Linked DNA regions of Homo sapiens: all the other regions are linked to region 1. Evidence: promoter capture Hi-C in 16 types of primary human blood cells and fetal thymus (Javierre and others, 2016). All regions are on one chromosome and are shown on one strand. The core of a region is centred on a gene start or on the middle of the fragment in contact, and the rest is flanking DNA. Distances in the headings are between cores, read along the strand shown.

The links. The method cuts DNA at HindIII sites, captures the fragments that hold promoters and counts their contacts. A CHiCAGO score of 5 or more calls a contact.
Region 2: the fragment with the promoter of SCRN3 here is called in contact with the fragment with the promoter of HOXD11 in region 1 in 1 of 17 cell types (total B cells); the score reaches 8.2 in total B cells.
Region 3: the fragment with the promoter of CHN1 here is called in contact with the fragment with the promoter of HOXD11 in region 1 in 1 of 17 cell types (endothelial precursors); the score reaches 6.1 in endothelial precursors.
Region 4: a contact is called between the fragment with the promoter of NFE2L2 here and the fragment with the promoter of HOXD11 in region 1, in 4 of 17 cell types (naive CD8 T cells, total CD4 T cells, M2 macrophages and 1 more). The highest score is 7.8, in naive CD8 T cells.
Region 5: a contact is called between the fragment with the promoter of IFT70B here and the fragment with the promoter of HOXD11 in region 1, in 1 of 17 cell types (naive CD8 T cells). The highest score is 5.4, in naive CD8 T cells.
Region 6: a contact is called between the fragment with the promoter of HNRNPA3 here and the fragment with the promoter of HOXD11 in region 1, in 1 of 17 cell types (naive CD4 T cells). The highest score is 5.3, in naive CD4 T cells.
Region 7: the fragment with the promoter of AGPS here is called in contact with the fragment with the promoter of HOXD11 in region 1 in 5 of 17 cell types (naive CD8 T cells, naive CD4 T cells, non-activated CD4 T cells and 2 more); the score reaches 10.6 in naive CD8 T cells.

What each region holds. Positions count from the first base shown.
Region 1 is chr2:176,105,054-176,108,820 of GRCh38, forward strand. HOXD11 (homeobox D11) reads left to right here and starts at 2,227. Exons shown (of 2, transcript NM_021192.3): 1 at 2,227-3,083. The coding sequence starts at 2,303. RefSeq lists an enhancer at 1-83. The HindIII fragment of the contact is 7,005 bases long and covers 1-3,767 here.
Region 2 is chr2:174,393,630-174,397,619 of GRCh38, forward strand. SCRN3 (secernin 3) reads left to right here and starts at 2,101. Exons shown (of 8, transcript NM_024583.5): 1 at 2,101-2,188. CIRSR (corepressor of RBPJ and splicing regulator) reads right to left here and starts at 2,083. Exons shown (of 10, transcript NM_004882.4): 1 at 1,922-2,083. The coding sequence starts at 1,993. RefSeq lists enhancers at 1,982-2,031, 2,529-3,029. The HindIII fragment of the contact is 1,293 bases long and covers 1,121-2,413 here.
Region 3 is chr2:175,003,861-175,007,438 of GRCh38, forward strand. It overlaps CHN1 (chimerin 1), which reads right to left and starts at 1,521. Exons shown (of 13, transcript NM_001822.7): 1 at 1,034-1,521. The coding sequence starts at 1,052. RefSeq lists an enhancer at 691-1,237 and a silencer at 1,222-1,281. The HindIII fragment of the contact is 4,598 bases long and covers 1-2,993 here.
Region 4 is chr2:177,262,966-177,266,721 of GRCh38, forward strand. It overlaps NFE2L2 (NFE2 like bZIP transcription factor 2), which reads right to left and starts at 1,762. Exons shown (of 5, transcript NM_006164.5): 1 at 1,567-1,762. The coding sequence starts at 1,611. RefSeq lists an enhancer at 1-935 and silencers at 616-775, 1,036-1,905. The HindIII fragment of the contact is 5,708 bases long and covers 1-3,235 here.
Region 5 is chr2:177,550,576-177,554,100 of GRCh38, forward strand. It overlaps IFT70B (intraflagellar transport 70B), which reads right to left and starts at 2,221. Exons shown (of 1, transcript NM_152517.3): 1 at 1-2,221. The coding sequence starts at 2,188. The coding sequence ends at 191. RefSeq lists enhancers at 1,221-2,025, 2,026-2,829, 2,198-2,487. The HindIII fragment of the contact is 6,507 bases long and covers 1,053-3,525 here.
Region 6 is chr2:177,211,146-177,215,028 of GRCh38, forward strand. It overlaps HNRNPA3 (heterogeneous nuclear ribonucleoprotein A3), which reads left to right and starts at 1,649. Exons shown (of 11, transcript NM_194247.4): 1 at 1,649-1,726. The coding sequence starts at 1,655. It overlaps MIR4444-1 (microRNA 4444-1), which reads left to right and starts at 1,581; the gene lies at 1,581-1,654. It overlaps LOC105373759 (a long non-coding RNA gene), which reads right to left and starts at 1,266. Exons shown (of 1, transcript NR_157853.1): 1 at 250-1,266. RefSeq lists silencers at 1,287-2,076, 3,482-3,551 and an enhancer at 1,616-2,287. The HindIII fragment of the contact is 9,993 bases long and covers 1-3,883 here.
Region 7 is chr2:177,391,123-177,395,130 of GRCh38, forward strand. It overlaps AGPS (alkylglycerone phosphate synthase), which reads left to right and starts at 1,651. Exons shown (of 20, transcript NM_003659.4): 1 at 1,651-1,927. The coding sequence starts at 1,668. LOC100130691 (Putative uncharacterized protein FLJ44553) reads right to left here and starts at 1,569. Exons shown (of 9, transcript NR_026966.1): 1 at 1,451-1,569. RefSeq lists silencers at 1,651-1,870, 3,079-3,373. The HindIII fragment of the contact is 4,249 bases long and covers 145-4,008 here.

The sequences.
Region 1 (3,767 bases), core at 977-3,476:
ACCCGGGTTGAAGTCCTCGCAGCTGCCCTGGGTCCTGAGCTACCGCAGGGCCAGTGTGCAGCGTCCAGGGAGCCATTTTAGGAGAGAGATCCAGGGGCGTCGACCACGAGCCCGAAAGGGAGAGGCTTGGGCCTGGGATGGAGATGGGGAGGCAGATAAGTGTGCTGGGGGTCTGGGTTGAGGAGAAGAATGTCAGCTGGAATCTGGGCGGGGGTGCCAGCTGCGGGGAGGGAGCACACAAGATGGGCAGTTCTAGTTGGGGGAGGCTCGATGCCCTCCAGTCGCCACAGACCTATTTGCGCAGTGTTGGGGGAGGGAAGAAGACATGGGAAGGGGCGGAGGAAGGAGAGAGGAAGGGAGAAAGGGAGGGAGGAGAAAAAGAGGAAGGGGGGGTACATCAGCCAGAAAATAGATATTAGCTCAGACCACCCGCCTTTTCTCTGTCTGTCCGCACGGTGGGCAGAGCGCACAGCACCGGCACTGCAGCAGCCCGGGCCAGGGAGGGAACCAGCATCACAGCCAGCGCCGCCTGCCCTGGGTATAGGACTGAGGCCCAGGCCCCAGCGCTGGGATTGCCTGGGCGGAGGAATCTTGGGGAAAGGGGCAGCCTCCTGCCCTCGGTTCTGGGATTTGGGTTTGGGAAGAGACGGTTTACCTTTGAAAAGCGTCTGCTCACTCGGAGGTGGGATCCCAGGCCTTGCCTGGACCCATGGGCTAGGAGAGGGTCGCGGCAGGCTGGGAGGAGAGTGAGGCCTTGGGGGAGTGGATGGGGTGCCCCACGAAGAGTCTGCCTCAGAGCCAGGTGACACAGAGGGGCTCCAGGAGGGAGTCAGGCTCCGCTGAGAGCCCTTAGAGAGACAACCTATCTTGGGGGAGGGGCTGAAGTGACCATGCAGACCCAAGGGTACCAGAAGAGCCTCGGGGAAACGCGGCGTGGATTCGCAGGCCTTGGCGGGGCTCCGAAGCAGTGAAGGGTCTAGGTATAAGGCGGACACCCAGGCTAGGCCTGAAAGCAGAGGGGTGAGGAGGACGAAGGTGCGAGTGTGTGGGGGTTGTCTCTTGTGGGGAGCCAGCGGGAAGCCAAGCACCCTAAGAGTAGGACTCCAGATCCTTTTGTTCACCAGACTCCCCAGATTCTAGGGAGGCTGGGGACCACGGGCTGAGCCCCCTCCTGGCTTCAGTGCTGAAGGAGAAGGCAGAGAGGCAACGGGGAGAGAGACAGAGACAGTGACACACAGCTTAGAGGAAAGGAGGGGAGAGGATGAGAGGACAGAGAGAGAGAGGAGAAGGGAGACAGGAAAGCAAGAGGAAGGAAGAAGGAAAGCGGAAAAGAAGAGGAAGGAGAGAAGTGAAGACAGGAGAGAGAAGGGAGAAGACTGAAGAGAAACGAGGCAAGGAGAAAGAGAGACAAGAACAGAGAGGGAAACCAGAGAGAAGGGAAGAGAGCCGGGTGGGCACGAAGGCCCCGGCCTGGGTGAGTGCCTAGGTGGTGAATGGCCTGGGTTTTTCCGAGGCCAGCACTCGCACCCTTGGGGTCAGAACCGGAAAGAGCCAAGTCACTCCACTCTGAACGCGCTGGGCAGAAAAATATGTAAATCAGGGCTCCCTGCGCCCTGGAGAGTGGCGAAATTACTCCCGCCCGGTGAACAAGAAGCAACAAGCTCCCAGGCGGGTGAGCTGCAGAGGGTGGCAGAGTCGCGGGGGAGGGAGCGGCTGCAGTAAGGGGGGTGGGGTTCGGAACCTCACACCCTCACACCTAGTTCCTAGCTTCTAGGGAGCCTGGAGCCGGGGCTTCCCCCCCTCTGCTCGCTGCTTCTCTCCCTTCCCCCTTCCTCCCCCTCTTCCCCCTCCTTCCTCCTCCCCGCCGGCCTCGGTCCGCGTACTTAAAGCGGCGCGGGAGGGCGGACGCGGGCGGGCGGCCCGTTCGGGCGGTGGCAGATGCGCCCAGCGGTGACAGCGGCCAGCGGCGCGCAGGTGACCGGCCTGAGGCGCAGCCTGGTCAGGGAGCGCCCGGGGAGAGCTGGCGGCAGAGGGCAGCCGATCCGCCCCCAGCGCGCGCGTCTCGGCGCCAGGAGCCGTCCCGGGGCGTGTTGGCGAGCGTTGATATAGATATAAGGACATTTCTCTTCATGGCGTCACGTGACATAATTACCACCAGAATCAATCAAGATGAATTGCACGTCAGCGCCCGGTGGGGATTTTTGCTTAGTTGATCCTGGCCCAAGCCTCTTGTGCAATCGATGGCTCAGGTTGGCTGCGCGGGGAGCGGCCAGAGGCTCGCTGGCGCGCACGCCGCGGAGTCATGAACGACTTTGACGAGTGCGGCCAGAGCGCAGCCAGCATGTACCTGCCGGGCTGCGCCTACTATGTGGCCCCGTCTGACTTCGCTAGCAAGCCTTCGTTCCTTTCCCAACCGTCGTCCTGCCAGATGACTTTCCCCTACTCTTCCAACCTGGCTCCGCACGTCCAGCCCGTGCGCGAAGTGGCCTTCCGCGACTACGGCCTGGAGCGCGCCAAGTGGCCGTACCGCGGCGGCGGCGGCGGCGGCAGCGCGGGGGGCGGCAGCAGCGGGGGCGGCCCCGGCGGGGGCGGCGGCGGCGCGGGGGGCTACGCTCCCTACTACGCGGCGGCGGCGGCGGCGGCTGCGGCGGCCGCGGCGGCCGAGGAGGCGGCCATGCAACGCGAGCTTCTCCCGCCCGCGGGCCGCCGGCCGGACGTGCTCTTCAAGGCGCCTGAGCCGGTGTGCGCTGCGCCGGGGCCGCCGCACGGCCCCGCGGGCGCCGCCTCCAACTTCTACAGCGCGGTGGGCCGCAATGGCATCTTGCCACAGGGCTTCGACCAGTTCTACGAGGCAGCGCCCGGGCCCCCGTTCGCCGGGCCGCAGCCCCCGCCGCCACCCGCGCCGCCACAGCCCGAGGGCGCAGCCGACAAGGGCGACCCCAGGACCGGGGCTGGTGGCGGCGGGGGCAGTCCCTGCACCAAGGCGACCCCTGGCTCGGAGCCCAAGGGGGCAGCAGAAGGCAGCGGTGGCGACGGCGAGGGCCCCCCGGGAGAGGCGGGGGCCGAGAAGAGCAGCAGCGCAGGTAGGCACCGGGTACTGGGCAAGCGGTGGGCCCGGGGGCCGCGGGGGAGGGGGGGGGGGCGGAGGCCTCCCTCTGCTTGCGCCTTTTTATGTGCTACTTTATAAGCATTCGAAGAGGTTTATACATCCTATAAGATTTCCTGGGCCGTTGTAAAGTGTGTTTATGGTAGGAAACCAATTTAGGTGGGCTTAAGGTAGACTTCGAGGAGGACATTAATAGCTGTCGAGAGCCTTTTCCCAGTTTTGGGCAGGGGGTTGCTAGATACCATGGAGGGAGGGAGGGAGGGAGATTTCAAGCCAGTGTGAGTGCATACACCGGAGCCTCCTGCTTTTAAGGGAGAGAGGCGGGGGGTGGGGAAGTGGGGGGAGTTTGATCCTTGCACTGGACTTTATCCAAGCCGCTAGCTGACGCGCGCCGCTGGAGTCAAGCAGATGCCCCGGCGGGCCTGCTCTTGTCTCTGTTCCCTCAGGTTCCAGTTTAGAGCCTGCCTTGCCCTCTGCTTCCCCACCTCCGTGCCAGGCTCTGTGTGTGTGTGTGTGTGTGTGTGTGTGTGTGTGTGTGTCCGGGCGTGAACACATGTCCACGCCCGCACTCTCTCCTGTGCCCGCCCATATATCATCCCCCACGACGCAGGCAGGGCCTTTCGGCCGCGGCAGAGAACGTCCCCAACGGGGCCAGGGCCTG
Region 2 (3,990 bases), core at 851-3,350, 1.7 Mb before region 1:
TTTCATGGTGGAACTCTTTTGCACTCTTTGATCAAACTCCTTTGTTTCTTCCACTTCTATTAAAAAAAAAAAAAAACTTTACTGGAGTATGACATATAAAAAGCTGTACATATTTAATGTATACAACCTGAGTTTGGTGACAAGTATATCCCTGTGAAACCATCATCACAATCTACACTATAAACATATCCATCACCTCCAAAAGTTTCCTCCTACCCTAATAAATTTTTCTATTTATCTTCATTTAATATAGTTCCTTTATCCTTAGTTAATAAAGAATGCTAGAGGTCACCCCCTCTCCCCATAAAGTGTTAACTATCTAGAAAGGTCTGCTAATCAAAAACATTTCATTCTTCTCCTCTATCCTGGGAAAAGTATAAAACAGATCAAAGAGGCCAACAATATTTGGTACATTTTACATAACACTTTACACAGATGAGAAGAATGTAGGTTCTAAGCCTATAACTGCTTTACTGAATTTCTCATAGCGGACTTGCAAAAGTTATTCTCTGTGGATTTCTTTTTTCTTGTAAGAAAGCTGATACATTGAAATTTATAAAGCGAAATGTCAAAAGTTCCAGTAAAAAATTATGATTTCTCAGGTATATTTGTCTCTAAATATAAACAGCAAATAAGCAAGCACCTGAATTCCATCTAATCTCTTCATTCTTGTAAAAATAGTAACAGCTGACCCCCTAAGTATGCAGAGAAAGGAAATGTCTGTGTTTGGTGTCAAAAGTTATTGAGCCAACCAAATACAAGAAACCTCTCCCTCCCACAGTTGCAACCACACAAACACAAACTGGTGCAGTGGAAAAAAAATCACTGGGTTAATCAGGTGTTCCAGATCCTAGTTCTGGTACAACATTTAACTAGCTGTGTAACTCTTGGCAAATTTGTTTCCTCATTTATAAAATGAGGAGATGGGGCTGGATGATTACCAAAGAGCTTTCAAGGTGTATCTGTGTTATTAAAATTTCATGGGGGAGTTATTAAGAAAAAATGTTTAATAAGACTCCTTAGGAAGGTAACAGTGAAAAAAAAGTTGAGAATCACTGGTCTAGAAGTGAGAGTATATAGCAGTATCTCATCACCTCAACTCGTTCTAAAAACAAATAAAAGCTTAGTTATTTTCACAAGTTTCTATGTAGGGGCAATCAACATTTTATTGAGCACCTCCTCTCTGTAGTGGACACAGTGATAGATGCCTACGTTGTTTCAAATCCTTTATCTTCACTATTTCACTTAATCCTCACAATTAAGTCAATCATCCTTAATTTACAGATTAGAAGACTGAGGGTCAGATATTACAAATATTTTGTGCAAGGTCTTAAGGCTAAAAGTGACTGCTCGAATAACTAGAATCCAGGTTTGACTCCAAAGCTGATTCTTTCTACTTCACTCTTTTGCTTTTCATTACTATGATATTCACCAAAGTATTACAACTGGTAGACCTGTAATTATGTAAAACACTAAACTTCAACGAGTTTAGTCATCAAAAAGACACTAGATTATTAGGTAATTTTTTTAAAGATCTATCTTAAGTAAACGGGGAGGCTTCTTTGTACAGAAAAGTAGAGTTCAGAAGCCGTGATCCCTGGGATCCGAAAAGACAAAAAACCAGAATCAGCTGAAGGAAGTACTGAGGAATTTTGACATTAGTCTTCGCATATTATGGATTTGCATTCTGGCCGACAAAGATTCTCTAGGCCACCGGTCTCCTCGCTGTTGCAGAATAAACGCTGAGGACCCGCTGCGTCAGCGAGCTGCTCAGCAGAGAAAGGCGAGACCACCAGGGCTTTAGGCCTAGAGAAGCGGAGGCTGTCCTAGGGATCTCAGAGACACCATCACTTTCACTTCCAGCAGCCTCTGGGAAGGCGGTCCCTGTGGGCCTAATCCCTCCCCGGGTCTGTTTACTCACTTTTTTGATATTGGATTTGGAGGCAGGATGAAAGTCTTTCTTGCACATGAAGTTGGCGAAGGATTTCCCCATCTTGGAACTGGAACTAGGGAAAGCAGGGGCTAGATCTGTTAGCAACGTAAACAAACTCAGCCGCCTAACCGGAACTGCGTTTCCAGCAGCAAGGGGGAACTTCCGAGATCAAAGGTGACAGCTTCCGGCAACTGATGCCTCCACTGGCCACTCCTCCCTCCGTCCACCTGTCACTTCGGGTAGCTGGGAGGCCAGGTGAGGGGCGCGCACGGGGGAGGGGCGTGCATAGTTGAGACAGAAACCCGGAAGACCCAACTGTGGCGCGGCACTGCTTGACCGAGGGGCTCCGGAGCCCAGCTGCACCGGCTGCGGTTTGAGCGCCCAGGGCCGGGGTGCGGGGTGGACCGCGGCGGCCCTTCGACCAAAGGTGCTTGAAGCTCGAGCCCATTACTTTCTGTGGACTCTGACTCGAGCTGCAAAAGCTTTTCTGCACTGTTTTTCTCATCTATGTTATGAAGATAATAATTCCGGCCCTAACCGTAGTATGCTTGCGAGAATCCAACAATATGATGTTTCTGAAAGCGCCGGCTGAACTAAGAGCGCGTGAAATAGAATGACAGACAGCTCTGCAAGAACGGAGGCCCTGTCTATTTTGTACCCAGCTGTACGGTACTGGCGCCGAAAGACGTTCAATAAATACTTATTGAATGACGAATACGCGTTAGGAGTTGGTAAAATCTCTCAAGGCTTCACCTCCTCAGTGGGCTAGGTGCAATTCTAACCAGGGGGCAAGTTTCCTTAGCTTTCCCTACGACCCCAGTTAGGCAGCTCAGGTTACTATTGCAGCTTGATGGCCCTTGGGACTCCAGGTTTTTGAGTGGACGTGGCTGCTACTGCAGCAGGTGATCCACCAACCAAGTTCTCTATCAGGGTAATGTTAAGAATAAACCTTGGCCGGGCGCGGTAGCTCACGCCTGTAATCCCAGCACTTTGGGAGGCCAAGGTGGGTGGATCACCTGAGGTCAGGAGTTCAAGACCAGCCTGGCCAACATGGTGAAACCCCGTCTCTACTAAAAACACGAAAAATTAGCCGGGTGTGGTGGCACGCGCCTGTAATCCCAGCTACTCGGGAGGTTGAGGCAGGAGAATCACTTGAACGCGGGAGGCGGAGGTTGCAGTGAGCCAAGACTGCTCCATTGCACTCCAGCCCGGGCAACAAGAGTTAAACTCCATCAAAAAAAAAAAACAAAAAACGAATAAGCCTTTATGAGAAATTTTCTCTCCTACCAAATAATAACAATAACAGCTTTCATGTGAGTATCTACTATGTTCTATGCACTGTGCAAAACACTTTACGTGTTGCCTTATTAAGTTCTCATAACAGCCCATCAAATAGTGTCTTATTTTTCTGATGAGGCAGAAGGCATAGGTAAGAGAGAGATTAAATAGTCTGCCAAAGTTATATAGTGATAGAACTAACTATAAAACACAAATAGAAGGAGATCCAGGACATAAGAGTTGAAATACAGAAAGAAAATAACAGAAGCCATCAAGACATCAGACTTCTCGTCACTGAGGAGAAGAGGAAAACCCTTAAGAGTTTCAGTCTGAAGTTTTTATTTAGTCATTTTCTTTTCTTTTTAAGGAAACATTTATTATATTTAAATTTTGTTTTTAAGTTGCTAGCATCTGCCTGTGTAAAGCCATTTTAAGGTTTTGCCATTATTAAAGGAAAGAAGGAAACTCTGTAAAACAATGTGTCTGTTCTGGCAGCAAAATAAGGACCTTTAGGTGTTCTATTATAAGTGAAGATCTAAGATTTTCCAAGTTACAACTGAAGAGGTAATCTAGATATTAAAGTATATAATTGCGATTTATAAATTAAATATGTGAACTTTCTCCTAGAAATATCAGCAATTTGGAATTATATTGACATATTTTTGTCTGAATCAATGAGTCTGTTTCAAAATTTCAGTCTCATCAGAATTATAATGTGTATTATTTCCCAGCTCAAATAAGACCCCTTCTTCCTTCCTTTGAGGAAGTACTGGGCACGT
Region 3 (3,578 bases), core at 271-2,770, 1.1 Mb before region 1:
GTTAAATAAAAGTAACACTTTGATTCTAGCAGCTTAATTCACTGGGAAGTATTTACCTCAAAAAGCATTTGAGGTATGTAACACCTCTAACGTGTTTGATCAAATGACATAATTAAAACTGAACTGGAAACTTGATATTGTGAATAACTTACTTAGGCTGTTCTCGTAGCTATCAATTACATATCATTGTACTTTGCTTCTTCAAAAAAGCTGAATACTTTGAACGTCTAATGTTCACATATTGAGTTTTCTTAAAGTCAGGTACGTATGTACCATAGTCGTTTTGTAAAAGGAAAGAATGTATCTTTTCAGTCCTTTTTCCCAACCCATTGTCATTGCAGACTGAGAAAAAAACAGCTTGAAGTCTTAACCACCAAAAGCAACAGTGCTGCAGTAATTACACCACAAAAATAACATTTCATTCTTAATGAATACTCAGTCTCCTGAGATTACAGTTATCTTCTGGTAACCAACTTTATTCTGTCTGCTCTCATTCGTTAGTGCAAACATTTTCAATTTTAACCCATATTCAGTTCACAAATCATACTTATTTCCAACGGAATATACTGAGTCCAAAAAAAAAATTCCCCAATAGTCCAACAGGAAGCAACACATGCATTTGGCAATTCCAAGGAGGCTGGGGACTCACAGATACCTCGTTCAAAATAAATAAACTTTCCAAGGATTTATTTACCGACGGGAAAGGCAGGTTTGAAAACAACCAGTTAACTTCACTCCCAAGTTGGCATCTTAGAGAATCTTTGTGCGTTTGCAAAACACCCAGGACCTCTGAGCCTCCCAGCCGAGAATTGGCCAGGGGAGCACACGCCCATCGGCCCTGCCGGGAGAGGAAACAATGGGAGAGGCGCGAGGGAGCAAGCCGGCGCCCCGGGCGCCCCAACTCTGCGGCCCCGGCCCGCCCCGACCCCACGCGCCGCGCCCCCTCCCCGGGCGCCCAGGCCCCCCAGGCCCCCGCCCCCGAGCCCCGGGACGCGGCCCACCTGCGGCGGCGCGGGGAGACGGCTGCACTTACCAAACAGGGTCAGGGCCATTGTAAAGGCGCTCGCCGCCGCCCGCGAGTCCAGGCGCTCCTCCCAGGCGGGCTAGGGATCACCTCATCAGCCCGCCGCACCCACACCTCGGAGAGAGTGGGGTGCCCGATGGGGCGTGCTGGGGGCGCCGGCGCCCGGGGAGGCTGCAGGCCGGGACGCGGGGGACCGCTGCAAGAAAAAGTTATTCACGCGTTATTGTCGGGCGCACCGGGCCCAGGGAGCCCCGCTAGCTCTCCGCGAGCCGGCACTTGTCGCTGCCATCAGGCGCGGAGCGTGCGCGCGGGAGGAGGTACCTGCGAGGCAGGAGGCTTGGCCGCGGCGCAGTGGCTGGCGGAGAGGCGGCGCCGCACTGGCGGCGGCGGCGGCGGCGACGGGGAGAGCAGCAGCAGCCTCGCACAGCCCCCGGCGGGGCGCGCTCACTCCGCATCCCGCGGCCTCGCAGACGCCATCTTGCGATAGCGTCTCCCACGAGCTCGGCCGCGCCGCTGCCTCCCGCCTCTCCCTCGGGCTTCCCGGTCGAGTGCGTTCCCATGGCAACGGGCGCGCGCGGGGGTAAGAGGGTGCGCCCTCATTCCCGCGGCTGCGAGGAGCCACCAGCGCCCCCCTGGAGGCGGCCGCCCGGAGCGGGATGGAGCGGGGCCGGTGTGCGTTTTAGCTGAAAGCCCAGGTTTTTTCTTGAATGGAATTTGAGGAGGCGCAGAGAGGAGAAAAACGCTGTTACTCGAAAGAGGAAGAGTCACAGGAGGATGCTGAGTGAACGCAGCGCCCAGGCAGGGTCATCTGGGGACCTGGTGCGTGTGAGAACATATTTCTTCTCCTGGCGCCCTCCAGGCTCACTGTGGCTGGAGCCGGTGACCTGAAGCTGCAGGGCTCTGGTAGGAACAGAGGCACTGAAAGCTGCATTCCTCTCCGTTTGGACTTAGGAGCTGCTAGTAGTTCTGATGAAATTGACACACATTAGGAAAAGGAGTCGCTTAAAAAGCATCTGAGATTACCTAAGATAATTTGTTAAAAGACCAATGCTTACACCTGATTTTCTTCCCTTTACATTATACCTCTTTGATATTGTCTCAAGGAAAAAAAAATCAGCATGTGTCACTGACTGGCACTTATTTGCCACAAAAGATTGTTCCCCTGAGCTTCTTGTATTTATCTGATAATCACTGGCAACGTCCTCCTTTCTGTGATGTTGTCTCCTCACCTCTGTCTCTGCCATGAGGAGCCATACAACGCCTTGAGATTGTCAGCCAAAAGATGTTCTTGAAAAGCTGGGTTATATGTTTTTCGTCGTTGTCGTTTAATGTATTCAAAAAGTCATTCTTCTCTAGTTGCTATATGTGTTCCCTGTTTAAGAAATTCCTTCTTTTTTCTTGTTTCTCTGCTTAGGGATTTGATACTATTTTGGTATCTGATCATGTAGATCTTCTCTTTGGTTCTCCTTTCTTTCTACAGGCGTCTTTCCTCTTAGTTCCTCAGGTTCCCTAGTGTCTTCTCTCCCATTTTCAAATAATTCTTTAAGAATATTATAGAAATATCTTGTATTTAATGTATCTTAGAGATCGAATCCTGATAAAGTGGGAGATTACTACAGTACTTCCAATGGAACCACAGTTAATTCACCATCATTATTTCAAAGCAGACTTAAGCATCAGAAGAAAAGCAGGTTGGAAGGAGGAGCCAAGCCTTTTGTTTCAAGTCAGTTAACTCAGGAAGAAAGAAATATTAAAATGATTCAACATGAATGGGCAAGTGTTTAAGATGCTATATGTTTGGAATTTTGTGATGTAAAATGGCTCTCTTTAGCCACTAATCAAAATACATCTTTAAAATCCCCAGAATTTAAAATCTTTCATGAAAATGGACTCTTGATTTTGAACAACCTTTCTGCTCATAAAAAATTACAAACACACAGCTCATGAAAATAAATGAGAAACTCAAGAAAGCTTTGTGGGATAGATTTTATAACCATATAAAGATTGCTGCTAATCTGCTCTGCAGCCAAATAAATCAGAAACCGAAGACTCCATTTACTGTTTCAACTAGTGGTCTTCAACATTTTTGGACCAAATTTCCTTTTGAGGCTCTAATGAAAATACTGTCCCTCCTCTTAGAAAAGTGCTTGCATACATACACACATTCACCGGAAATTTTTCACATAATTTCAAGGGGATTATGGGCTATTCAGGGACCTTAGGTGAGCCCCTGGAAGTGTTTTTTGTAATCTCAGAAAGTTTTTGCCTTTATAATTTAAAGGAAAATATTTTCCTTCAGAATAGAACCATTGAATTTTGAATAGGAAAAGACCAAAACTCCCATGATTTATAGGTAAAAAAATTGAGTTCCCCGTAAAAAGATTTTCCCAAATGTGTTCACCTATTTAGTAGCAGAACCAATGGGAAAATCTTAGATTTCTGGTGTTCTCACCGACCACCTTCCCTACCCACATCCCGCATCAATTTAGAGGTTGCATGGTTTGAATTTCAAAAGAAAAATCTGTTTAGTATTAGAAGCAAAATAACGAGAGTA
Region 4 (3,756 bases), core at 512-3,011, 1.2 Mb after region 1:
CACAATTAATACATTGTCCATAACTTAAAACTTTACAATAGATCTTTGGAATTAACCGAAAACTTTACATTTAACAGCATAAACGTATTTACTGTACATCAAGTACACATTTCCTTGAATTCCAATTTTTTTCCTAAAATTCATTTACAAAAGAAGTTAGAAATATAAATATCTACTTTTAAAGTTTCTACAAAGGATGAGCAGAAACTTCTTTTCACTTTTATAACAATTCACAGAAATTAGCAAGTGTTTTGAAACGCAAGCGTTCCACTCTCTGCCCCTGCAGAAGAGGGGGAACATGTTAAGAAATTGAGGCAAATTCTCAACTGAAAAGGAAACATATATAAAGTACTCAGGGGAGAAATAATAGCTGAAAGCAAAAAATTACTAACAGACTAAAAGCAACAGAAATTCTAATCTACACTCGCAACTCTTACCCTTGACAGCACAGAAGAGAATATCCCGTCTTACACATTTTGGAATTGCAATTCTGAAACGCTAAATCCAAAGACAAAGCCGCTCTGGGGAAAATAGCAATTGCGCAACAGATCAACAGCTCCAACCTGTCCCTTGGCCCTGGCGCGGCGAGGTTTGCACGCTATAAAGCAGGAAAGGGCCAACCGAGGGCTGCTGTGACGGCCAACCGAGCGCTGTCACGGAAGCCAAGGCCACGCGCGCGGTGAGCGCCACCAGGGGGCACCGCGTCCGAACTAGAAGCCCCGGGTGCCGCCGACTCCGGCCTCAGAGTCCACTGCCCTCGCCCGCACTTTCCCGCGGCGTTACGAGGGGCCAACTCCGGGTGCCCGAGCCCGAACCCCTCCCCGGCCGAGAAAGTGCGCGGGGCCCGGCTCAGCCGCCACACGTCGGGGCTTCTGAGCCCGCTGGGCACTTAAGGCGCTCCTCCCTCGTCCCGGGGCTGGGCTTTCAAGAGAGCTCAAGGCTGCCAGAGAGTGATCCGAGAGATGGATGACTTCGCAAAGCCGCGCCCACAGACGGCCCAGCGGGGTGAGCGCGTCGCAGCCCGCACTCAAGGAGGTCTTGGGGCGCGGCGAAGGGGCTCCGGGTCCCAGCCCGAAGGCGACCTCAGTTCCCCCGAGAGCGGCCCCGTGACTAGGCACATTTTTGCCGGCACCGAGGCGGGGGAGCCGCGCAGCCCCGGAAGGGCCGGGCCGCGCCGGCTCAGACGGCCAGCGTCCGCCCCCTCTTGCCCCGCCGCCCACCGGGCCGCTCAAACTTAGGGGCTCCGGAGTCCCAGCTCTCGGGCCCGGGGACGCGGCTGGATTCTCCCCCAAGGCCCACGCGAGCGGGCTCAGTCCCCAGACCTTCCCGCAACTTCCCACCCGTTCGCCCTCGGGCTCGTGGTCGGTCGGATCACCCGGCCGCGTCCCCGCTGCCCCTCCCCGCCCTGCCCCGGCGCAAGCGCGGCGGCTCTACCCAGCGCCGCGGTCCTGGCTCTGGCCAGACGTGGGGGAAGCCGGTTGCGGCTGTCCCTCCCGGGCCGCGGTTCCCTAGCTCCCCCGCCCCCGTCCCGGCACCACCGCAGGGCCCAGAGGGCCGAGGCAGCACCTGCTGGGACGGGAGTCCCGGCGGCGGCAGCTCCAAGTCCATCATGATGAGCTGTGGACCGTGTGTTGGGGCTCCCCGACGGCGGCCCTGTTCCGGCTGCCGAGGCGCGGCGCGGACAGGGCGGCTCTGGTGGCGGCGGCGGCGGCGGTGGCGGCTGCGTCGGCGGCTCCTCCGGGCTCCCCGGCACTCGGTAATCGGCTACACGCCGGCGGGCCCCTGCCCCGCTCCGCCTCCCGCCCCACAAGGGCGGGGCAAGAGTCCGGGCCCTTCCTTCCCCCGCCGGCCGCGCGGGCTGAGCTTCCGAAAATCCCCCACCCGCGCCGGGGCTGACGCAAGAAGCTCGCGGTCCGGGGGCGGGAAGGGACTGCCAGCTGGGGTCCCAGCAGGCGGGGGACCTAGAGGAGGTCTCCGTTAGCTCCCCGGTGCCGGCGTTCAGTTTGCCCTCCCCCGCAAATAAGGGCAGCGCTCTCGCCCGCGAGATAAAGAGTTGTTTGCGAAGGTCGCTGGAGTTCGGACGCTTTGAAACAGTTTAAACAGTTGGAACAAACACACCCGGAGCCCCGGAAAGGCGTTGGTGTAGGAGCTGCGCCTCCCTGATTTGGAGTTGCAGAACCTTGCCCTGCTTTTATCTCACTTTACCGCCCGAGAATGGCGCCAGCCGGGGTGGGGGGGGCTAAAGATTTGGACCCAGACCGTGCCACTGCCAACTGCCCTCCCGCCCTTGCTCCCTTCCCGGGCTGGGGCCAGTGGGCCCTGCCTAGGGGAGATGTGGACAGCTCCGGCAGCTCGTGTTCGCAGTCACCCTGAACGCCCTCCTCTGAACTCCCACGTGTCTCCATTCTCCTAAGCTCAGGTCGTCAAAGGCAAACGGAGAAGCCCCTTTAGGTCGGAGAGTGGTCAGTATTGCCCACCCAGAGCTGGGAGAAAAACGGGAACCCCAAGAGAACCTCTTCCCACCAAAGCGCAGCCACCACGCCACAGATGGCGCCCTTCAACAGTGTGTAATACCACAACATGCTGTAATCGTTTACTCTTTACAAATTTCTTTTTCACGTACTCACAAAATAGTACAAATTAAAAAAAGTTACAAAAACGTTTGTATAGTATTGGCTCATTTTATAAAAACGTGCCTAGAAAAAAATTGAAGGTTACCAATATATTAAATGCTGTGGAATCAACGATTTTTATGTTTCTCCTTGTTACTTCCAAGTATGCTTTAAATCTGCAGTGCGTATGTTTTATGTCTTACATTAAAAACAATTATTTAAAAATTAATCATTGCCCAGAGAAGACTTCAAGTATTTGAAACGAGGAATATTGTGAACTCTTATAAGGGTTCAAAGAGGATAGATAAATGGTTTAGTTTTGTTTTTTTCTTCCTCTTCTGCATTTACAATCTTTCTAACTCTATACAAGACTGGTTTTCAGTTTCTAGCTTCCTGGAATTATTCAAAACCAGGTGAAGTAGATAATACTGGCAGTGGTTTTGCTATTTCATTCAAAAACCACACACACACCCCTGACTATAGCAATCAACGCCCAAAAAGCTGCAGAGCTTACTTTCTCTAGGTTGCATAATTTGACACTCCCAGGATTTATGTGTAAATTTGTATATTCAGATATTCCTTGAGATAAGTGAAGCCTAAATTAATTACTTGTAATTGAAGCAAGCTTCTTTAACTCCTATTAATTCCTTTCAGCTGTTATGTGAAAACCCTGCAACATGATCTGCACAATGAAAACAAGTTAGGAGAAAACTGTTTGCAAAGGACCTCACATGAAAGATGCAGAGACATAATAATAAAATAACATTTCTGAGTCCAAGAAAAAGACAAGAGTAAATTGTTAACAATTCAAGTTACTTATTAAAATTACGACATCAGAGAAGGTAGACAATGAGCCTAGTAGGTAGGAGATACCAGAGTCATATGACATGGTTACTGCTCTAAAGGAGTTTATAAAGTATTTGGTATTTCCTTGTTAAGCCACAAAATTTCCATTGAGTTTAGACTGAATGAAATAACCTTCACTTTTCCAATGCTGCAATTTGCTGAGAGTGTGTTATTTCAGGCATCTGCAGAGTACATATTTTCAAAGGGAGGGGAGCAATATGATAAGAGTTTGAACTTGTTTAAGAAAAACAAACACTAAGGAAAAGCTGTTTGGCATTTGGTTTAGCCAAATAAAGGG
Region 5 (3,525 bases), core at 971-3,470, 1.4 Mb after region 1:
TGGGGTAAAAGTTCTTAGAATATGTCACTTTCTGGGAAATTTAACAGCAAAAGTTTTAGCTACTTTTTTTTTTATAATGCATAAGTGTACAAAGTTCAACATGTAACAAATATAAAGATGCCAAAGGGTAAATAAAGCGATGCAAATTTACATAACAAAGCCATTTGATAAATGCCACTATCAGCTATTACTATATATTCCATCCTATAATCTCATAAATCAAAGCTTTTAACTGCCTAGACTCATATGTGACTGTATTCTTTCCAACATGCATTCTTTCTTCTTCCAGGGGTTGTTCAATAACAGCAGGTATGTTTCTGCCATGAAGTTCACAGTGTTCTAGAAACTGGACACATTCTTGAATAACACTATCACGAAGCATGATTGTGTGTTTTGACATGTTTTCTAACAAGGACAGGAAGCATCTTTTGGCATAATACCAGGTGTCTGTTCCCAGCTTTTTGTTGTAAGGTTCCAAGCTTTTGATAACTCGAGAAATACCAAAGTCATAATTTCCTTTGGCACAATAAAGAGTTCCTATCACCAAATTCACAATGCAGAGATGGTACATTTTCTTATCTGGGTCATCATAAGAGAGCTGCTCTTCCTCCTTTTCAATCTTCCTCATCAACTCCTCTGCTTCTTCATTTTGACTTGTCATAATATAGGAAACACAGAGATTAGCCAGTACAATAGCACTGACATTCAGGATGTTATCATAATGCTTCTTGACTATGGGTTCATAGAAACCAATGGCTTCTTTGTATTTGTTTTCCTGCATGAACAGAACATGAGCCACATTCAACTTCCACACATCATGGTCGTTACAGAATTCCACAGATTTGCGGAAGATCTTTTCCACCATTGGATAATTTTCAAGATTCCAGTAGATTTTTGCCTGAGCCATCAACACAGGAATGTATTTCTCCATGGTTTCATCATATTCATTCACTGCCTTTTTGATAGCTTCATCATCTCTATTGTGTCTTGCTTCCTGTACTTGTATGGTAAGTTTCCGGAGGACCTCAGTCAGCATCCCTGCTAGCCCATCAAGCTTAATGAAAGCCTCTTCAGGAGCTGTCTGGCAAGTGATCACAGCGTCCAAGAAGTCATAGAGATAGGGTGTGAGGAACTTATAAATCAAATGGGCATTTTCTGCCAGGACATCTGCTGCCAGGTCAAAATACTCATATTTACAGTAGAGCAGCAACAGGTTGCCAAAAGTCTCTGGAGGAAAGGGATTCTGTTGGAGCAAAAACTGTAGCTTTTCAAACCCTTCTGTAGGCCTGGCATCCATGTTCATTAGTGCCTGGTTGTGTAGGGTCACAGGGTCCAACTCTTCCTCTGCCCTGGGTGGCATGTCAGTGAGGGCTTCTTGAGCTGCCTCATAGTTTCTCAGTTGGTATTCTATAGCTGCCTTAAGGTTGAAGGCTTCCACCAGAGCAGTCTGATGGAGGACTAAGGTGTTGCCAACACTGCGAACATCAATGCCCTCAGTGGTCATGCCCACACCTAGCTCAGGGTGCTGGCGGATGCCACGCTCAATAATCTCAGCGATATGCTTCAGTGCTGAAGCATACTGTCGGCTGCTGTAATAGGCCAAAGCCAGGTTGTAGGAAAGGTCAGGCTGGTAGCCCGAGGCCTGCAGGGCGGCAAAAAACTTGGAGCATGCAGCTTCATACTGTCCCTCCTTGTAGAGCAAACAACCCAGGTTGATCTGGCCATCGGTCTCATTCTCGCCCCCACTTTCCTCTCCCCCTTCCCTACTCGGCAGCTGCTCTACCAGGCTCCTGGACCCTGGCAGATCGCCCTCGCTGTACTTGATAGCAGCTTGCAGGCGGAGGACCCGGCTGTGGTAGGCGGGGTTATCCAGGAGAAGGAAGGCGACCCGGGTGGCCTCCGCATAAAGGCAGGCCTTGTACAGGGCCTGGGCCTGGTACAGGCGGTACTGCTCCAGTTCCGGGTGCAGCTGGCCCAGCTGCTCATAGCACTCGGCCGCCAGCGCGAACTCCTGCAGGCGGTAGTAGCAGTAGCCTAGCAGCGACAGGCCGGCGCGGCTCCTAGGGCTCCGCTGCAGTTCTCCGCCCAGCAGCTGCACCGCCTCGGCGTAGCGTGCATTGCGGATGAGGCGGTACACGACCGCGGTGAACTCCCCGTCGGGGATCTGCGCGCCGCTCAGGCCAGCCATAACCACCACGGCTGTTATGGGTGCGGTTACTATGGCAACAGAGCAACCGGAAGCGGAAGACTGCCGGTTTCCTTGTCGCAAGAAATCTGTTAGGAACAAAAAGGGACCACTCTCGTCAGTCTCTCAATTTCAGCTTGATCTTCAAATACTCTGGACTGCGGAGTGGCGGCATTCAGGAGGGGAAAGACTACTCCGGGCCGTTCAGAGACTGAATCTACTCGTCCCGGCATGCACCGTTCCAGTGGTTCCGCGGCGCGGGTCGTAGCCGCGCTGCATGCTGGGAGACGTAGTCCCGGCTGTACCTACCGAACCGGCGGCCCGTGGGGGTGCAGGGTAACTCTCCTTCCCTGCCTCTTAAAGATGAGGGGCGCTCACTGTGTCTGTTATGGCACCGTGGTCTCTGGCGCGGCGGAGGAAGGTTTCCGGCCCCATGTTCCTGGCGATTTTGAGCCTGGTACACGGTGTGGTCGATAATAATGCTGGCTTTTGGTTTAGTTTCAGTAAAAGAACCGGGATGGCAAAAGGCGAGTTATCTCTTGGAATTACCCTGGAATTAGAGCACGTTCTTTTTTGCACTACCCCGAGGGCACAGTTTGTAAGAACGGAATAGAGCGGCGAGCAGGAATCCTTAATTTGGTGGTTTCCAGAGGTTAATGAGGAAAAAGGACTGTGAATCTTGATTGGTACTGGGAGAGTTTCGGTTTTAGGTCCAAGTATCTCCCGCTCTTTTTTCCCGTAACAACAAATATTACTGAGTATATATTGGCGTTTACCCTTGGCCATCCCCATTGCGCTGGAGTTCCAACTTTCACTACTAGGTAGAAACGTTGGAGAAATGCATGACTTCAGTTTTTTCCAAGAGGGGAAAATCCAAGACATTAAAATGTGCTCCTTTCCCTATGCATTTTTACTCTTCTCTCTTAACTACTAAATTAGTCAGCCAGTGATGTGTGGGTGTGTGAGAGACACACATGCTCAGTTTGTACTTTTCAGCCTTCTAGGGATTTTGGATATTGAACTGATAAATATGGATTTTCTTCTGTTAAAATAAGAAAAGATTGCCTACACTTTAATTTTTTTTCCAGATTCTTAGTTTGAAGATTTCTATGCAGGTTTGCTAGACTGTACAAGATATCATTCTGGGTTTTCTTTCATTCTTTGTTATATATTTGGAATAGATGCTGTAGATTCCATGTTATTATCCTGGGGCTATTTTTGTATAATTTTTTTTCAGTTTATTAGTGGCCATGATGGGGCTGTGAAAAACTAGGGGCTTAATTATTCCATAAAATTATATTTAATCACCAATTTAAAAAATACCCCTAGATAAACTGACC
Region 6 (3,883 bases), core at 399-2,898, 1.1 Mb after region 1:
TCATAGAGTACTCTGGTGTGAATAGCAATTTCCAAAGGTCTTTCACTTTGCATTTTTCTTTGTATCCAGAATCGATAAAGTTACCAGGACTATTTCACAGTAATTAGACTTACAAAATCTTAACACTAAATAGACGCTAAGGCTATACATTCTTCCAATGTCTCAAGTCTATTGCTGGCCATCAGGAGCACCTGGATACGTAGAACATAAGAAAGTTTGCGAAAAAGGAATCAAAGCAACAGGAGGAGTCTGGTTTGAACGGTTATTTCAACCAAATTACATTAAGGACTGCTAACTGTTTTCTGCCCCACAAAAATACCCTTTGTAAATGTTTCCAAACTATAACACAGGTCCTCCTGGAGCAACGGCTAGATAAATTAACAAACTTTTAGACTTTACGCTCCCCTTTTCCAAACTCCAAGTCGACCACTCCCCATTTGTTAACAGAAACTTACTATAACTGATTAGATTTCTAACCTTTCCTAGGGAGAGCCAGTTCAATTCTAAAAGGGTTGGTCACATGGGTTGCTAAATTAAAATATAAAGCATTTCCTAACAGGGAAGGGAGGCTGGTCAATTGTGGTTATTTTTATCAGTAACTTTAAATATGGATCCATAGATTATCAATTTATGGCTGTCGTGGGTGTTAGAAGATGACCTAATCCCATCCCCATTTTCATTTAAAAAACTGAAACTAAAGCTCTGTAAAATCAAATGATTTAAAATCATCTGACTAGGCCGAGAAAGGATTAGCTCTCTAGAGCATTACGGTAACAATCATTCGCAAACAGGTAGCATTATCTGGCGACCCTGCTTTTCTGGAAATCTTGTCAATTATTCAGTTCCTTAAATTCCGTCAGCTACAACAGATGCATCAGCTCTTTCCACACTAACTTGAAAGAAGCACATTAGAAAATAGTCCTGACTTGTTTCTTGAGATCAGTAACTAATGAACTGACCTCCACCAGTCCTGCCTCAGGTCGTTAATGGTAAAAATTCTGTATGTCAGCCGCGTTTTGAGGCCTGTCCAAGGTGCTTGTGAGTCCCACATGTTGGAGTCGCAGGGCTTTTCAGTACATGCCCTCAGGCAGGCGGCGCAGTCACAGACACTGGTCCCCGGCATTTGGAAACAGGAAAGATGGTCCGAGGGGCCGAGGAGTTTTTCTTGCAACCTTTAAATTACAAGCAAGAAAAACGTGGGTTTTATTTCGGGCACAGGAATAGAATGAATTCTGAAATGGAGAACTAGAGGCCTGCGTGGGGAATGAGGGACAAGCGCGAGAAGAAAGGGAAAGGCCTTTCTCTCTGGTGACGCGCGATCACAAGGCGTTCCCTCTACGTGGACGCTCACCATTGGCGGAGACCGCACTGACGTCCCGGAACTCGCCCTGACGCGAACGGCGGCAAAGGCCCTCTTCCCCTGAAAGCTGGCGAGGCGCGCGCGCTCCCGCGGCACGCCGCGCCTCCGCCCTCCGCCCGCCAACCCGCTGGTCCAGTCCCTCTTCGCGCCCGCTTGGCTCCGCCCCCTTCCCAATTCGCTCCTCCCCCAACAGACTGGCGGCGCGCGGAAAACGCGTCACGTGACGACTGGCCCCGCCTCTTCCTCTCGGTCCCATATTGAACTCGAGTTGGAAGAGGCGAGTCCGGTCTCAAAATGGAGGTAAAACCGCCGCCCGGTCGCCCCCAGCCCGACTCCGGCCGTCGCCGTCGCCGCCGGGGGGAGGAGGTATTAGGGGGAGAGCGGGGGGTTGGTGGGGAATGGCCGGCGTTGGGGGCCTGGTTCGGTGGGAGCGGGGAGGCCGGGTGGACCGGGTCGGCCGTCCCGCGCTCTTGCGTTGAGACAGGCTGTGGGAGGGGGAGGGGAGCGAGAGTTGGAGACCTCCTTGGGGCCCCTCGCCCGCCTCGCCTTCACCTTCGGCTGCACAGGCGGCCCCTTGGAGGCGCGGCTTGGTCGGGGAGGCCTCGGGAGGGAAGCCGGCCTGCCGGCTGCGCGGCCTCCGAAGCGAGGCCGAGGGCGGCATGGCGGGCCCCGGCGGGAGCGGTTGGGAGGAGGTGGTGGGGGAGGGGAGGGGACGAGCAGGCACATCCGGGCGAGCGAGCAAGCGGGCGGCGGCCACATTGACATTGATCCGCCGCCGCGTTACGAAATGGCGCATTGGCCCGCAATGGCCGCCGCCTCGCTCTGCCGCCGGGAAAGCGAGCCTGGGATTGGAGGGAAGAGGGCGGAGGCGGCCCGGCAGAAAAAGCCGCAAATGGCCTCGAAGCATGGGGAGGTAGTGCTTTCGCTGAAGTTCTGCCGACGCTTTTCTAGGCCTTTTACGGGTCCTCTCCGCGAGAAGTCGATAATTGGCCTTTTCTTTTTTTCGCAGCATCCTGTTGGAAATACGAGATTGTTAAAAACTTTGCTGCTTTAAAATACTTCCTGATATATTTTTGCTAAAGTACTTACATTACACTTCTTAAACCGCCATGTGGGCGAAGGACTTAATTTTTGAGAATTTGAGTGTAGATGTGAAAAACAACCCAGCCAGCTCCTTCCCGGCTCCGGCCGCTGAGGAGGGTGGGTGGAGAAGAATTTGAGTATAGTATGTTAAGGAAGAATTTAGAAATGTTTTTTATCTTCATGTTTTCCCATTCTTTGAGTCGGCTCTGGTTGTAGTTTCCTGGAATTTTATTTAGAGGACTGCAACCAGAGTTGAAATTTTCACGTTTTTGCAGTACATTTAATGTGGATCCTAAATATTTTTGTCGATTTCGTTATTGTCAATCGAATACATTTATCCAAGACTTGAAAAGATGAGATTACATGAATTAATGCTTTAGGCTATTAACGTTTTTTTCTAGCATGTGACAATCTCTTCACATTAAACGGTTTAACATCTCTACCTCTAGGAGACACAGGAAGACATTAGAATGTAAATGTGAGCCCCTTATTTAAGAACTTCGGGTGAAGGAAACCTTAATGCATGCATTAAATGACAGTTCATGCAATGTGTTAAAAAGTCTTGACTAAAGTATAAAACAATTTCAAGACATCTTAATTCTTAAAAATCTCAATTTTTGTTTTGCTGTACTCCGTTCTTATAGTCAGACAATACATACCATTCCTAATGTAAGTCCAACTTGCCAGTTAGTTGTGACTCTTAAAATTGAGTTGTAAATTGCAGATTTTTGCAGCATATAACAAACATGGGTTATAGAAAGCTATTTGATCGGCTTTTTTTTTTCCTCAGTTTTTTTGGGAAATGCTGGTTTGGCTTAGGAATGCCTGTTTTAAATTAATTTGCTTGAAAGCAGTGAGTTTCTGTAAGTTTGACATTCAGAACTTTTAGATTGTTCTTCATCACAGTTTTGAGTTTAAATGTATGGGCCGGGCGCTGTGGCTCACGCCTGTAATTCTAGCACTTTGGGAGGCCGAGGCGGGCGGATCACGAGGTCAGGAGATCGAGACCATTCTGGCTAACACGGTGAAACCCCGTCTCTACTAAAAATACAAAAAGTTAGCTGGGCGCGGTGGCGGGCGCCCGTAGTCCCAGCTACTCGGGAGGCTGAGGCAGGAAAATGGCGTGAACCCGGGAGGCGGAGGTTGCAGTGAGCCGAGATCGCGCCACTGCACTCTAGCCTGGGCGACAGAGCGAGACTCAGTCTCAAAAACAAAACAAACAAAAAAATTAAATGCATGTTGGGTTGTAGACTGAGAAGAGTTGAAATGGGATAGATGCAACACTGCTTCTCCAACAGTTTAGTGCCTTAGAAAATGACTTACTAGCAACTTCTAAAGTAAAGGTTCTCAGACAGTTGTAGCTTTTAAAAAATGAAGCGATTTTTTGATTCTGGAATTGTCTTGGATTTCAATTTAGTTGAAGTGATGCTGGCATTTGAA
Region 7 (4,008 bases), core at 401-2,900, 1.3 Mb after region 1:
AATCTATAAAATAAAAAACAAAAACCCCAAGCCTACGTAAGTAATTTTAACGTAAAATGTTAATGGCCCCAAACTCTAATGGTGGAATAAGGACAATAACATGAAGTATATGATATTTGAGATAAAATATAGCTATTTAAGAAAAGCTTCTTACTCTCCTTGAGCCTTCATCTATAAAATAAGGATAATAAAACTGTGTCATTGTGTTACTGCAAAGATTGATTAAATAGATACGTATAAGATGCCTAGGTTATGGCCATTTTTTATATTTAACAAATTCCTAATTCTTTCTTGTTTCTACAACTGTACTAAATTATTTTAATAGCTGCAAAAGTATTTTAACATATTGACTAACCATTTCTCTGTTGCTAGACATTTGGACTGTTTTCAATGGTTTGGTATCTCTTCGTATATAAATTTCAGAAGACATTCGGACCTCCTGTAAAGGCCAGGTAATACATATTTTGGGGCTTCTGGGACCACATAAGGTCTCTGTTGCATATTCTTTTAAAAAATTTCTTGTTTTCTTTTAACAACCCTTCTCAAATACAAAAACCATTAGCATGAGGGCTGTGTAAAAACAGGCCACAGACTAGAGCTGGCCCTCCAACAGCAATTTGCTTAGCCCTTAATTGAGAGTTTTTAACCAGTCTGGGCCTCTTTGGAAGTTCACTCTAAAGGCATAATCTCAATTTTAGAAGCTGGCAACACCCAAGAGAGCAATTGTTAGTCTCTAGTCCCATGGATGTGGTGTTCTTCAGATTCCTCTGCCAATATTTTTCTTGTTAGGAAAGCATGATGTGAAAGTGGTGACAGGATGGAGAATGACAATGGCCAGTGTATGTGAGTTTTTGTCTAAGCTAATTCTTATGCAAGACACCGGCTGAAACAGGTGAGGAGCACTTTTCACGTGCTATCTTCCAGAAATGAATTCAATCTGTAAATAACTGAGATGTCTTCACAGCTCTTGGGTAATTTTTGTCTGTAGCAATAAGAAACTTTATCTCTATTAAAGTTAGGAAGGGGTTAGGATCCAGTAATGAATGAAATGAGAACTTAAGTTGCAACTCAGTTTCTGTACTTACTTGTGATCTAGCATTAAACACAGTGCCAGGCACGAAATAGGTGGTGAGAAATAAGAAAATGATAGAGCTATTTGCTCTAATGGTTAGAGGCAATGATGGTCAGCTTTGAGTTACTTTGGTGACCCCGCAGGGAGGAAGAGCACAGGTGGAACATTAGAATCTCTTTCAGGAAAAGGATGCCGCTGGATCCATCAGGTCCAGTAGCACTGCCCATTTCTCCTGCTCCAAGGCATCTGCCCTCGAAAGCCCCCAGGCCACACCCGAGGACACCACCCAGGGTTCTAGGACACCTCGAGGGCGGACGTGGTTTGGCTCTCGGTCCAGCTGGACCGGGCTGGGCCAACCGGGAGTCAGCTCGAACTCACCTGCTTGGCAGGTGCGCGCTTCCCGAGGCGTGACAAGGGAGCGCCGGCGCGGTGGGTGGGGGGCAGAGAATGTGAAGCTCCAGACGCATGGCACCCGCCGCCAAGTCGCCGCGGTGGCTGCCGGGATGCGCCGCAGCGAATGGTCGCGCCGGGCGCCGCTCTGAGTGACCTTTCACCCGCGCCCAGCGGTTCCGGGCGGCAGCACAAGGCGGTAGCCATGGCGGAGGCGGCGGCTGCAGCGGGTGGGACTGGCTTGGGCGCGGGCGCGAGCTACGGGTCTGCAGCGGACCGGGACCGGGACCCGGACCCGGACCGCGCCGGGCGGAGGCTGCGGGTTCTCTCTGGCCATCTGCTGGGCCGGCCCCGGGAGGCTCTGAGTACCAATGAGTGCAAAGCGCGGAGAGCCGCGTCGGCGGCCACGGCAGCGCCCACGGCCACTCCCGCCGCGCAGGAGTCGGGCACCATCCCAAAGAAGCGGTGAGTAGCGGTATGTGGAAGGAGTTAGCGTCGAGGGACCAGGCCGGGCCTGTGCTGCAGGAGGGCACAGGCGAGGTGGGAAGGGAAGTGACACGGGTGGGCGGAAGGCATCCCGGTCCCTGAAAGTAGGGACCCACCTCTCTTTCGAGAGAGTGGACTAGACCCTGGATTCTGTCAGGAAGGGGGCGGGATGGGATGGTGGATTTTGGTCACTATGTGAGGGTAACAGGCTTGAAGAACTCTCGTTGGAGAAGGGTTTAAAGGATTCCTTTTTCCTGAGCTTTTAGTGCCAGGAATTCATTTTTTATCTTGAATTAATACTTTTGGTGCTGAGGTCTTGGAATGGGTAGCAGAGGTTCTATTTTTCTCCGAGGAGATATAAATTTGTACTAGATGATAGATCATAGGAATCTCTCTCATTCGCGAAAGCCTGCTGTGGGGGAAACTGGTGGTGCCCTGGAAAAAGGTGCTGACTGGTTTCTGTGGGGTAAGTTCCACTTGCTTAGGATCAAGATGTATTGACTTTGAGGGAGGAAACCGATGAATGGTAAGAAGCCATAAACTGCAAACACTAGCTAGTGGTTTAAGGTGTGGTGGTATAGCTACTGAGCTCTGTGTAACCAGAAGCTAAAAGACAAGAGTCTAACCGATGAGGGATGTTTGTAAGAGATCTTGACTTTCGATGTTTTTGGAGAAATCTTTTTTTTTTTTTTTGTATTTTTAGTAGAGACAGGGTTTCACCGTGTTAGCCAGGATGGTCTCGATCTCCTCAATCTCTGATGAAGGCTATTAGGAGAAGCTACTTTCTGACGTGTGGCTTTGTCACCGTGGATAAATGGATAAACCGAGAGTGAAAAAAATAAGTAGCTAATGTTTAAAGTGTACTTTTAAGTGTGCCAAAGTGTGCTAAATCCTTTGTTTCTTCCCAAGCTATGAGGTATGTGCGGTTTTCTCCCATTTTACAGATGAATAAATTAAGTCTGCTGGAGTCTTAGCAGATATGCTGTGTGACAGGTTAGAATTTGAAAGCACATCAAATTGACTTCATGGCCAAGTTCCTAAGCTATACTTGCTTCTGATGAATTAATTCAACATACATGAGTCTTTACAAAATACACACTGTACCAGCAATACAGAAATTTAAAAATACGGTATTTACTCTTAAGGAAGGAATAGCTTAGTAGGTAAAATTATAATACAGCGTTATAAGAAACTTAACTGGGAACTATACCACCTGGTCATTTAACCCAGTTTTGGGTTTGTGTTTGTTAGTGCAAAGATGTTCCAAAGTAAAGATTGTCTGAGTAAATTTTGGATGTTTGCATTACTAATAGTTTGCCAAAGGGGGAAATTGTTCTTGGCATACAAACAGTATGTTCACAGGTAAAGAAGTGAGAGACAAATTAGGGAACTGCTGAGACTCAAGTGTAGTAGGAGAGGGTGAGAATGACAGGGGACGAAGACTGGAGAGGTGAATCTTGTTTACAGGATTTTACGTGGGGCAATACATGATTAGATTTACCTTTGATAAAGGTCACACTGGGAGCAAATTGAAGACAGTTGAGCATTTTGGCAGTATAATGGCTGGGAACATAGACCTGGATTTCAATTTCCACTACACCGTTACAGCTCTATGATCTTGGGCAAATCACTTAACCTCTGAGAGTTTCAGTCACCGTCATTTGTAAAAACGGGAACAGTAATCCTGTTTTGCAGTGTTGCTGTGAGAATTGAAAAAAATAGAGTTAAATGATCAAGTGTTTAGTGCAATGCCTGTTACATAACCTTTCAAAGAATGGTAGCTGCAATTTTCACAGTGTCTAAAGGCAGAGAGACTAGGAGACTATTATTCCAGGGAGAAATGCTGGGATTCTGAACTAAGGCATATTATTGGGAGTAGGCAACTTAATTGAGAAAATGCTAGGAGGTAAATTTTCCATAACTTGGTTACTGAGTGGTGGGGAGGGGAGGAATAAAGGATTTCATCTCGTCTCCTGGCTTCAATTGAGGTTATATTATTAATAGCTGTCATTAGGTTTAAAATTTTCTAAATGGTTTCATGTACATTTATGTGTTCTCAT